2 separate regions of the Homo sapiens genome follow, and region 1 is linked to region 2. Evidence: promoter capture Hi-C in 16 types of primary human blood cells and fetal thymus (Javierre and others, 2016). All regions are on one chromosome and are shown on one strand. Each heading gives the region's core, a stretch centred on a gene start or on the middle of the fragment in contact. The rest is flanking DNA. Distances are from core to core; before and after follow the strand shown.

Region 1 (4,620 bases), core at 1,096-3,595, 550 kb before region 2:
TTCCCTTGAGCATTTCTTTTAATACTGGTCTAGTGTTGATGTGTTCCTTTAATTTTTGTTTATCAAAGATTTTATTTCTTCTTCATTTCTGAAGGATAGCTTTGCCGTGTATATTATTCTTTCCTGGCGGTTTCTTTTTCCAGTATTTTGAAAATATCATCCTATCCTCTTCTGGCCTGTAAGATTTTTTGCTGAGAAAGCCACTATTAGTCTAATGAGGGTTCCTTTATATGTGACTTGATGTTCTTCTCTTGCTGTTTTTAGAATTATTGTTTTGTCTTTAACTTTCAACAATTTGAACATTATGTGGCTTGCAGAGAATCTGTTTAGGTTTAATCTGTTTGGCAACCTTTGAGTTTCCTGGTTCAGGATGGCCATCTCCCAAGGCTTGTGAAGTTTTCAGCTATTATTTCATGAAACATATTTATACACCTTTTCCCCCCCCTTCTTTTTATGGAATGTCAATAATTTGAATATTTGTTTGCTTAATACTGTCCCATACATTCTGTATGCTTTCTTTATTCTCTTTTTTTTTTGTCTACCTCTGTTATTTGAAAACACCTGTCTTTAAGTTCAGAAGTTCCTCTGAACTCCTTTCTTCTGCTTGGTCTTATCTGTTGTTGAAGCCCTCAATTGTCTTTTTTTTAAATTTTATTCATTGAATTCTTCACCTCTGGGATTTCTGTTTTGTTCATTTTTATGATATCTATCGCTGTGTTGAATTTGTCATTCAAGACATGAATTATTTTCCTGATTTTTTGTATTGTCTACCTGTATTCTCTTATATCTCATTGAGGTTTCTTAAGATTATTATTTTGAATTTTTTTCTGACATTTTATATATTTCCTTATGATTGGGGTCTGTTACTGGAGAATTATTATGTTCCCTTGGAGGTGTCATGTTTCTATGCTTTTTCATGTTTGATGTGTCCCTATGTCAATTTGTACACATCTGGTGGAAAAGTCACCTCTTCCAATTTTATGGAGTAGGTTTTGTAGGGAAAGATATATTCATATAGATGAGTCTTGAGGTCTTGAATAAGATATAATCTTATTCATATAGATCAGGTCAGTGGGGTGTGTTGGGTTGGTTCTGGGTGGATGCAGTAATATAGTCTCCATGTAGTTTCTTTAGCTGTAATCCACACCGGTGATGTTTGCAAGGGTCTCATTGGTCTAGGCTAAGAGAGTTTGTACTGGCAGTACTGGTGTGGCTTTGCTTTTTTAGAAACAGCTCATCAGGCTGTTTCTCAGGTCAGTGGTGAGGTGTGCACATGGCGGGTCAGCCAACTTAGAGTCTGACTCCCTGGGGATGGAGCTACAGGGTTGTTTCTCCAGCTGGGGGCATGAACCCATGGTTGCTTACCAGCCTCAGACTGGGCATAGCCTATGGGACTGTTTCTCAGGCCCAAAAGATGGCCATACAGTTTACTTCATTTTTGGTCATGTTAAGCTTTTAAATACCAATGAAAAATATAGTTGGAGATATCCAGAAGGCATGTGAGGATAATACGTTTGAACTTCAAGGTAAGATCTGGGTAGCAGTCATTAAAAGAAAATTCACATGGTAGTTGAAGTTATATGATTACATAAAATAATCTAAAAACAACATACAGTGTGGGGGGCTTCAGAGTGTGTGTGTGTGCATGTGTGTGTGTACACACAGTCTTGCTTCTTTGTTTTTAATTGGTTTTGAATGTCTTCGGTTAGGACACACACTATAATTCAAACACAGTCTTTACCATTCCCTATTTTCTTATACCTGGAAAACTTACAGTTATTTTACCTGTTTGACCTCTGGAAATAACTTGTGTTTTCAATTTCTGGTGTAGCAAGAAAAGCAGTGGACTTTTTATCACTTAACATTAAAAATGGATTTTAACCTAAAATATTTTTAATATTATTTTAAATCACCAGAAAAATTGATTTTTAAATATCTTGATGTACAGTTTTATGAATTTTAACACATGTATGGAGACATGTTATCACTACTACATCAGGACATATAATAATTTTAACATAAAACTTCCTCATTCTACCATTCTACCACTTTATAGTCATCCCTCCTCCTACCCATAAATGCTGGCAACCTGTTCTATTTCTATATCTTTTTTTTTTTTTTTTTTTTTGAGACAGAGGAGTCTCACTCTTTCGCCCAGGCTGGAGTGCAGTGGCACGATCTCAGCTCACTGCAAGCTCCACCTCCCGGGTTCACGCCATTCTCCTGCCTCAGCCTCCCGAGTAGCTGGGACTACAGGCGCCCGCCACAATGCCTGGCTAATTTTTTTTGTATTTTTATTAGAGATGGGGTTTCACCATGTTAGCCGGGATGGTCTCAATCTTCTGACCTCGTGATCCACCCGCCTCGGCCTCCCAAAGTGTGTTCTATATCTTTATAGTCTTGCTTTTTCAGAACGTTATATAAATGATATAATGCAGTATGCAGTCTTTTGAGACTGGCTTTTTTATGCAACATAATGTCTTTAAGAGTCATCCAAACTGTTGTGTGTATCAATAGTTTGGGCTTTGTATTCTGAGTAGTATTTCATTGTGTGGTTGTGCCACAGTTTATTCATGTATTCACTTATTGAAGGACATTTGGATTCTTTCTAGTTTGGGGCAATTATGAATAGTGCAGGTATAAGCATTGGTGTTCAGACATAAGTTTTCATTTCTCTAGGACAGAAACTCAGGAATGGAATTGCTGAGTCACATGGTAAGTCTATGTTTAACTTTGTAGGAAACTACCAAACCATTTTGCAGAGTGGATGCACCATTTTTTATTCCCCTAGTAATGTATGACAGACCCAGTTGCCCAGCACTTGATATTGTCAATTTTTTTTAAAAAAATTAAAACATCATATTGTACCCCATAAATGTATAATGTATACTATTATTATTGTTTGTTAATTAAAAATTTTAAGATGTTTCTTTCTTGCTATAAGAGAAAAAGATGCTTTTTTAATAGAAGGAAATATCCCAGAAACAGATAAAATGTAAAGTAAAATCATTCATTCTCTTCCCAACCACGAGGAAATTGCTAATGGTTTCAAGTCTATCCTTCCAGAGTATTAACTCATTCATGAGCATATATAGATGTATACGACTCTCCTTTTGTTACTTTAAAAATTCAAGTGGTATAAGAGAATACGGTTCTGCATATAAATGTGCATTGTACATTTTTATTTCTATGGTCTATTTTGAGTTAATTTTTGTATAAGGTATGAGGTTAAGCTTGAGGGCTTTTTGTTTTGTTTTCTCATTTGCATATCGATGTACCATTGTTGCAACATCATTTGTTGTTCCTCCACTAAATTGCTTTTGCATCTTTGCCAAAAATCAATTGACCCCTAATTGTGTGGGCATACTTATGGTCTCATTTTGCTCCATTGATCTATTTGTCTATCCCTTTGCCAGAACCACACTGTTTTGATTACTGTAGCTTTATAGTAATTTTTTTTTTGAGACAGAGTCTCACTCTGTCTCCCAGGCTGGAGTGCAGTGGTGTAATCTCCGCTCACTGAAACCTCTGCCTCCTGGGTTCAAGCAATTCTCCTGCCTCAGCTTCCCGAGTAGCTGGGACTACAGGCACCCACCACCACGCCCAGCTAATTTTTGTATTTTTAGTAGAGACAGGGTTTCACCATGTTGGCCAGGATGGTCTCGATGTCCTGACTTTGTGATGCGCCCACCTCGGTCTCCCAAAGTGCTGGGATTACAGGTGTGAGCCACCACGCCTGGCCAGTAATTCTTTATTTTTATTTTTATTTATTTTTTTACTTATTATTTTATTATTATACTTTAAGTTCTAGAGTACATGTGCAAAACATGCAGGTTTATTACATATGTATACATGTGCCATGTTGGTTTGCTGCACCTATTAACTCATCATTTACATTAGGTATTTCTCCTAATGCTATCCCTCCCCCATGCTCCCACCCAACGACAGGCCCCGGTGTGTGATGTTCCCCGCCCTGTGTCCAAGTGTTCTGATTGTTCAATTCCCACCTATGAGTGAGAACATGTGGTGTTTGGTTTTCTGTCTTTGCGATAGTTTGCTGAGAATGATGGTTTCCAGCTTCATCCATGTCGCTACAAAGGACATGAACTCATCCTTTTTTATGGCTGCATAGTATTCCGTGGTGTATATGTGCCACATTTTCTTAATCGAGGCTCTCATTGACAGACATTTGGGTTGGTTCCAAGTCTTTGCTATTGCGAATAGTGCCACAATAAACATACGTGTACATGTGTCTTTATAGTAGCATGATTTACAACCTTTTGGGTATATACCCAGTAATGGGATCGCAGGGTCAAATGGTATTTCTAGTCCTAAATCCTTCAGGAATTGCCACACTGTCTTCCACAATGGTTGAACTAGTTTAGGCTCCCACCAACAGTATAAAAGCATTCCTATTTCTCCACATCCTCTCCAGCACCTGTTGTTTCCTGACTTTTTAATGATCGCCATTCTAAATGGTGTGAGATGGTATCTCATTTTGGCTTTGATACACATTTCTCTGATGACCAGTGATGATGAGCATTTTTTCATGTGTCTGTTGGCTGCATAAATGTCTTCTTTTGTGAAGTGTCTGTTCATATCCTTCACCCTCTTTTTGAT
Region 2 (5,156 bases), core at 1,401-3,900:
ATTCCATAGAGAAAGAATAGTATCCTCAATAGAGTGCTGGGATAGCTGGATATCCACATGCAAAGGAATGAATTTGAACCCCTTCCTCACACCATGCATAAAAACGAACACAAAATGGATCATAGACCTAAATGAATGAACTACAACTATAAAACTCTTAGAAGAAAGAATGAGTAAACCTTCATGACCTTGGATTGGGCAAAGTATTCTTAGACATGACACCAGAAGCATGAGCAACAAAATAGAAACTCGATAAATTGTACTTCTTAAAAATCTAACTTTGTTTTTCAAAGGACACCCTCAAGAAAGTGAAAAAAAAGAACACACTGAATTGGAGAAAATATTTGCAAATCATATATGTGATAAAGGACTTGTGTCTAGCATATATAAAGAACTCTTATAACTCAATAATACAAAGACTAGTAATCCAGTTTAAAAATGGGCAAAAGATCTAAGTCAATATTTTTCCAAGGAAGATACACAAATGGCCAATAAGAATGTAAAAATATGCTTGAAGTCATCAGTCGTTAGGGAAATGCAAATCAAACTAGAATAAAGTACCACTTCACATCCATGTTAGAGAGAATGTGGAGAAATTGGAACCCCATAGGCTGCCAGTGGGATGTAATATGGTACAGCCACTGTGAAAAAGTCAGGCATTTCATCAAAGGGTTAAACATAGAGTTGCCACAGGACTGAGGAATTCCGTTCTTAGGTATAAATCCCAAAAAACTGAAAACAGATATTAAAAAAAAAAACCTGGCACATGAATATTCGATGGTAGGATTATTTAGAATAGCCAAAAGGTGGGAACAACCCAAATGTCCCTCAATGAATGAATGGATAAACAAGATATGGTCTATCCATATGATGGAATAGTATTCAGCCACAAAAAGGAATGAAGTACTGATACTTGCTACAGTGTGAATGAACCTTGAAAACATTATGCTAAGTGAAAGCAGCCAGTCACAAAAATGCACATATTATATGATTTCATGTATATGAAATGTTCAGAATAGGGAAATTTATAGAGACAGAAAGTACATTAATGGTTGCCAAAGGCTGGAGGAACATGGGATAGAGAGATGATAGCTAAAAGGTTCTGGGTTCCTTTTTTTAAAAAATATATATACATATTTTATTATACTTTTAGTTCTAGGGTACCTGTGCAGAACGTGCAGGTTTGTTACATATGTATACGTGTGCCATGTTGGTGTGCTGCACCCATTAACTCGTCATTTACATTTACATTAGGTAAATGTAATCCCTCCTAATGCTATCCCTCCCCCCTCCCCCCACCCCTCTGGGTTACTTTTTGAAGTGATAAAAATGTTATAAAATTAACTGTGGTGATAGTTGTATATATCTGTGAGTATATTAAAAACCTATGCTAAGAATTGTTCACTTTAAATGGGTGAATTGTACAGTATGTGAATTTTCATGTTAATGAAGCTGATTTTTTTTAAAGAGTAAGGCAACGATAAAAGATTACACATAGAAGGCCGGGCGCGGTGGCTCACGCCTGTAATCCCAGCACTTTGGGAGGCCGAGGCGGGCAGATCACAAGGTCAGGAGATCGAGACCATCCTGGCTAATACAGTGTAACCTTATCTCTACTAAAAATACAAAAAATTAGCCGGGCGTGGTGGCGGGCACCTGTAGTCCCACCTACTCGGGAGGCTGAGGCAGGAGAATGGCATGAACCCGGGAGGTAGAGGTTGCAGTGGGCCGAGATCGCGCCACTGCACTCCAGCCTGGGCGACAGAGAGAGACTCTGTCTCAAAAAAAAAATAAAATAAAATTACACATAAAAAATACAAAGGATATGAAGAGACAATTCCCAGAAGAGGAAATGAAATGGTCAATACACAAGACTTGGTATTGACCTCATCAGTAGTCAGAGAAATGTAAAAATAAAGCAATGAGACATATTTTTATTTAACTAAATTCTATTGAGAAGAATTAAGAAAGAATAAAACATACATATGATGCTTGAAATAATGCAGAGCGATGGTCTTTTCACACATTGCTGGGTAGAATTTAAACTGTTAAATAGTTTTGGAAAGTAGAATGCCCATGTCCGTTAAATTTAAAATACTTATACTCTTTGAATTCATGGCCCCTTTTTTAAGACTGTAGCTCACAGAAATAAAATACTTGTGGCTACACTTTAAAATAAGTTATGACAAAAGGGAAATTAGGTGGAAATGGAAAGATATTTATGTTGCTTTATTAATTGCAAAAAGCAATTATTAATTGAAAGTAAGGCCCCAGTTTAATTTTTGTAAAAACAAACAGCAATAAATGCATATAGGAATACAAACACATATAATATTTGTGTGTTTATGTGAGCATGGAAACACTTGTAGACTAATATATAATTATGTGCCTTCCCTTTTTTGTGCAGTTTTGTATTGCTTTGCTAGTTTCAATGAAAAGGTATGACATTGGCAGTTTGAACGACAGAGAACAGTTTTAATGAACAGAGGGTGGGTGGGGTAGTTAGAAAGGGAGGGATCGCGCTAATGTTGCAGCCATTTTGTGTGCGCTCCTCTTACAGATAGTGCGGCGGCCCAGGCGTCGCGTCTACGCGGGGGATTACAGTAACCCGGTTGTCAGTGATGAGTCAGAGTGCGTGGTGCTGATGCTGCTGCCATTTCATCACCTTTGCGAGCGCAGCATCCATCCCTCCGCTCTCCCGGCGCCTGGGCCTACCCAGCTTCGGGCTCCCAGGCCAGCGATGCGCTCGCGGCTGAGCTAGATCCTGCCGAGCCGCGCTCTCTGAGGCGTCGGCGGGGCGCCCCCTCCCGCCGTCCCCGGTCCGGGCCAAGGAGACCTGCAGAGCCGCGGCCATGGAGGCCATCTGGCTGTACCAGTTCCGGCTCATTGTCATCGGGGATTCCACAGTGGGCAAGTCCTGCCTGATCCGCCGCTTCACCGAGGGTCGCTTTGCCCAGGTTTCTGACCCCACCGTGGGGGTGGATTTTTTCTCCCGCTTGGTGGAGATCGAGCCAGGAAAACGCATCAAGCTCCAGATCTGGGATACCGCGGGTCAAGAGAGGTTCAGGTGGGAGCGCAGTCCGGGCCCGCAAGCAGTGGGAGGGTCTTCGGGGTTTGCACCGCCTCTGGGGAGAGAGGACTTCCTGGTTCTAGGTGCGGTCCAGGAGGGCAACACCAAGGGTCTTGAGGATTCTGCCGAAGCCCACCTTCGGCTAACCCGGAGTTTAGTGCAAGGAAAGAAGCGCCCTGGCAGGGAAGGCCGGTCAATAACACATATTGCTTGCACCACAACTCCACCAACCTGCCCTTTGGTGGCTAACAAACTAGCTGGAATTGATCTCTGTATCTGTAATTCATCAATCTCAGTCCCTATGTTACATACTTTCAAAAACGTTCCCAGGTCATCCTAACATAACTGACAGAGATTTAAATACATAAATACATGTGTATTATGTTTTATTTCCACATCTGTGTGTGTGCACATATATATGCTAACATATGTTCTAACATGAAATAGATACGATTGATTCCTTCTTGCAACCAGCACACATTCAGTGATCATCTACTATGTGCCAGACTCTGGGCTTGTTCCTGGGAAAACAGTGTGAGGAGACTCACACAAGGGGATGCCATGTAATCTAAACAGACAAAGCCCCTTCATTCTTGGAACTTCTGTGCTAACATAGTTGAGGGAAATAGATAATCAGCAATTACGAAAGTGTGTCTTGCTCATATTTGTATGCCCACTCCCTACTGTAACACTTGGCACAAAATGAACATGCTTAATTTCAATCAATGAATTCATTGAATAATCAATGAATATGTTTACTTTCACTCAGAACCCTTTGCTTTTCTATTGTAGCATGTATTATTTGTAATTATATGTATGAACACAGAGGAGGAAAGGTTAACTGGAGAAGATGAGACCGGATGAGTATGACTGCCTAAGCAAAGACAGGAAACGCCCAGGGATAGGAAACAGCATGAATAAAGACAGAAGTGAGAGGGAGCAGAGTGTACACAGAAAACTTTGCAGAGAACAATTTGAACTAAAGTAGAGCAGCAGGAACCAGATCAAGAAAACTCAATAGCCCAAGTTTATGATCATTTACTCATTTATCTATTGAAAACTAACTAAGCATAGAAGATACTGGTTGGGTAATTGAAGAGGGGTAAGGAGAAGAAATAATTACAAACTTAAGTTACCTCCAGCTCCCCACTTCCACAAACACCACTGTGGAAAATATCCTTGTACAGGTTCACTTTGAACTTGCGATTGCATTTCTCCTAAGCAAAGAAAGGTATCTTTTATGTGTTTGTTGGAATTTCTTTCTATATGAACAGCCTGTTCATATCCACTGCTTATTTATTTATTGGGCAATATGGACTTGTAAGAGTACTTTATAGATTAAGAATATTAACCCTTTCCTGTCATGTATGTTGTAAGATATATTCCTAGTTTATCATCTGTCTTTTCACATTATTTAAGATTTTTTAATGTAGGGAAGAATTTAAGGTTTATGTAGCCTTATGTCCATGCTTAGAAGGCCTTTGTCACTTTCTTTGCTAAGTACTCACAAACAATTAATGTAATAATATATTCCAGAGTTTTGACAGTGATCTACAGCTTGCTTGTTGATTTCTTGAATCAACCTTCTCACAAATCAAAACCTTTGTTTGTTCATGTCTAAATTTTCTGGTAAATCTACCATTCTCCATGAATCTTCAAACCTAAGAGACGAGAAATGCTTTCAGTCCCCAGGGCTGATTTGCCTGATTTTGGAGACTTAAAGTCATTTGTAAGTTTTACTTTTACCATCATCTAGCTTGGACTGTAGGTCCCTGGACAATGCTTGTTCTGCTAACATTGAGCCATTTTCTCTAAGCTATTGAGTCCTTCGTTGTCTATCTTCTTTATCTGAGGAGACAGAAAACCTAAAAATAGACATAGGTAAAAAAAATCACAGTAGTCTAAAGCAAGTGACTGCAGAGACAAATAGGTCCATACCCTGTAATAAGCTTTAATACACTGTAAGCAAAGTGCCATAATGTATATTTATAATGAGGTTCCTCAAGTCAAGAAGTTAAAACATGTGAAGTTTCTTCTGATGGCTCCTGAGTTGAGTTGGCCTCTCTGAAATGTGTCAGGAAACAGG

Evidence for each region. Contacts are between HindIII fragments. The CHiCAGO score rates a contact against its expected background, and 5 or more counts as called.
Region 1: a contact is called between a fragment that was not itself captured here and the fragment with the promoter of RAB39B in region 2, in 2 of 17 cell types (monocytes and M1 macrophages). The highest score is 6.9, in monocytes.

The regions. Positions count from the first base shown.
Region 1 is chrX:155,814,134-155,818,753 of GRCh38, reverse strand. No RefSeq gene overlaps it. Among named protein-coding and RNA genes, the nearest start is that of VAMP7, 65 kb to the left of the region's middle. The HindIII fragment of the contact is 1,781 bases long and covers 1,455-3,235 here.
Region 2 is chrX:155,261,985-155,267,140 of GRCh38, reverse strand. It overlaps RAB39B (RAB39B, member RAS oncogene family), which reads left to right and starts at 2,650. Exons shown (of 2, transcript NM_171998.4): 1 at 2,650-3,067. The coding sequence starts at 2,853. RefSeq lists silencers at 2,603-2,652, 2,663-2,872. The HindIII fragment of the contact is 10,241 bases long and covers 1-5,021 here.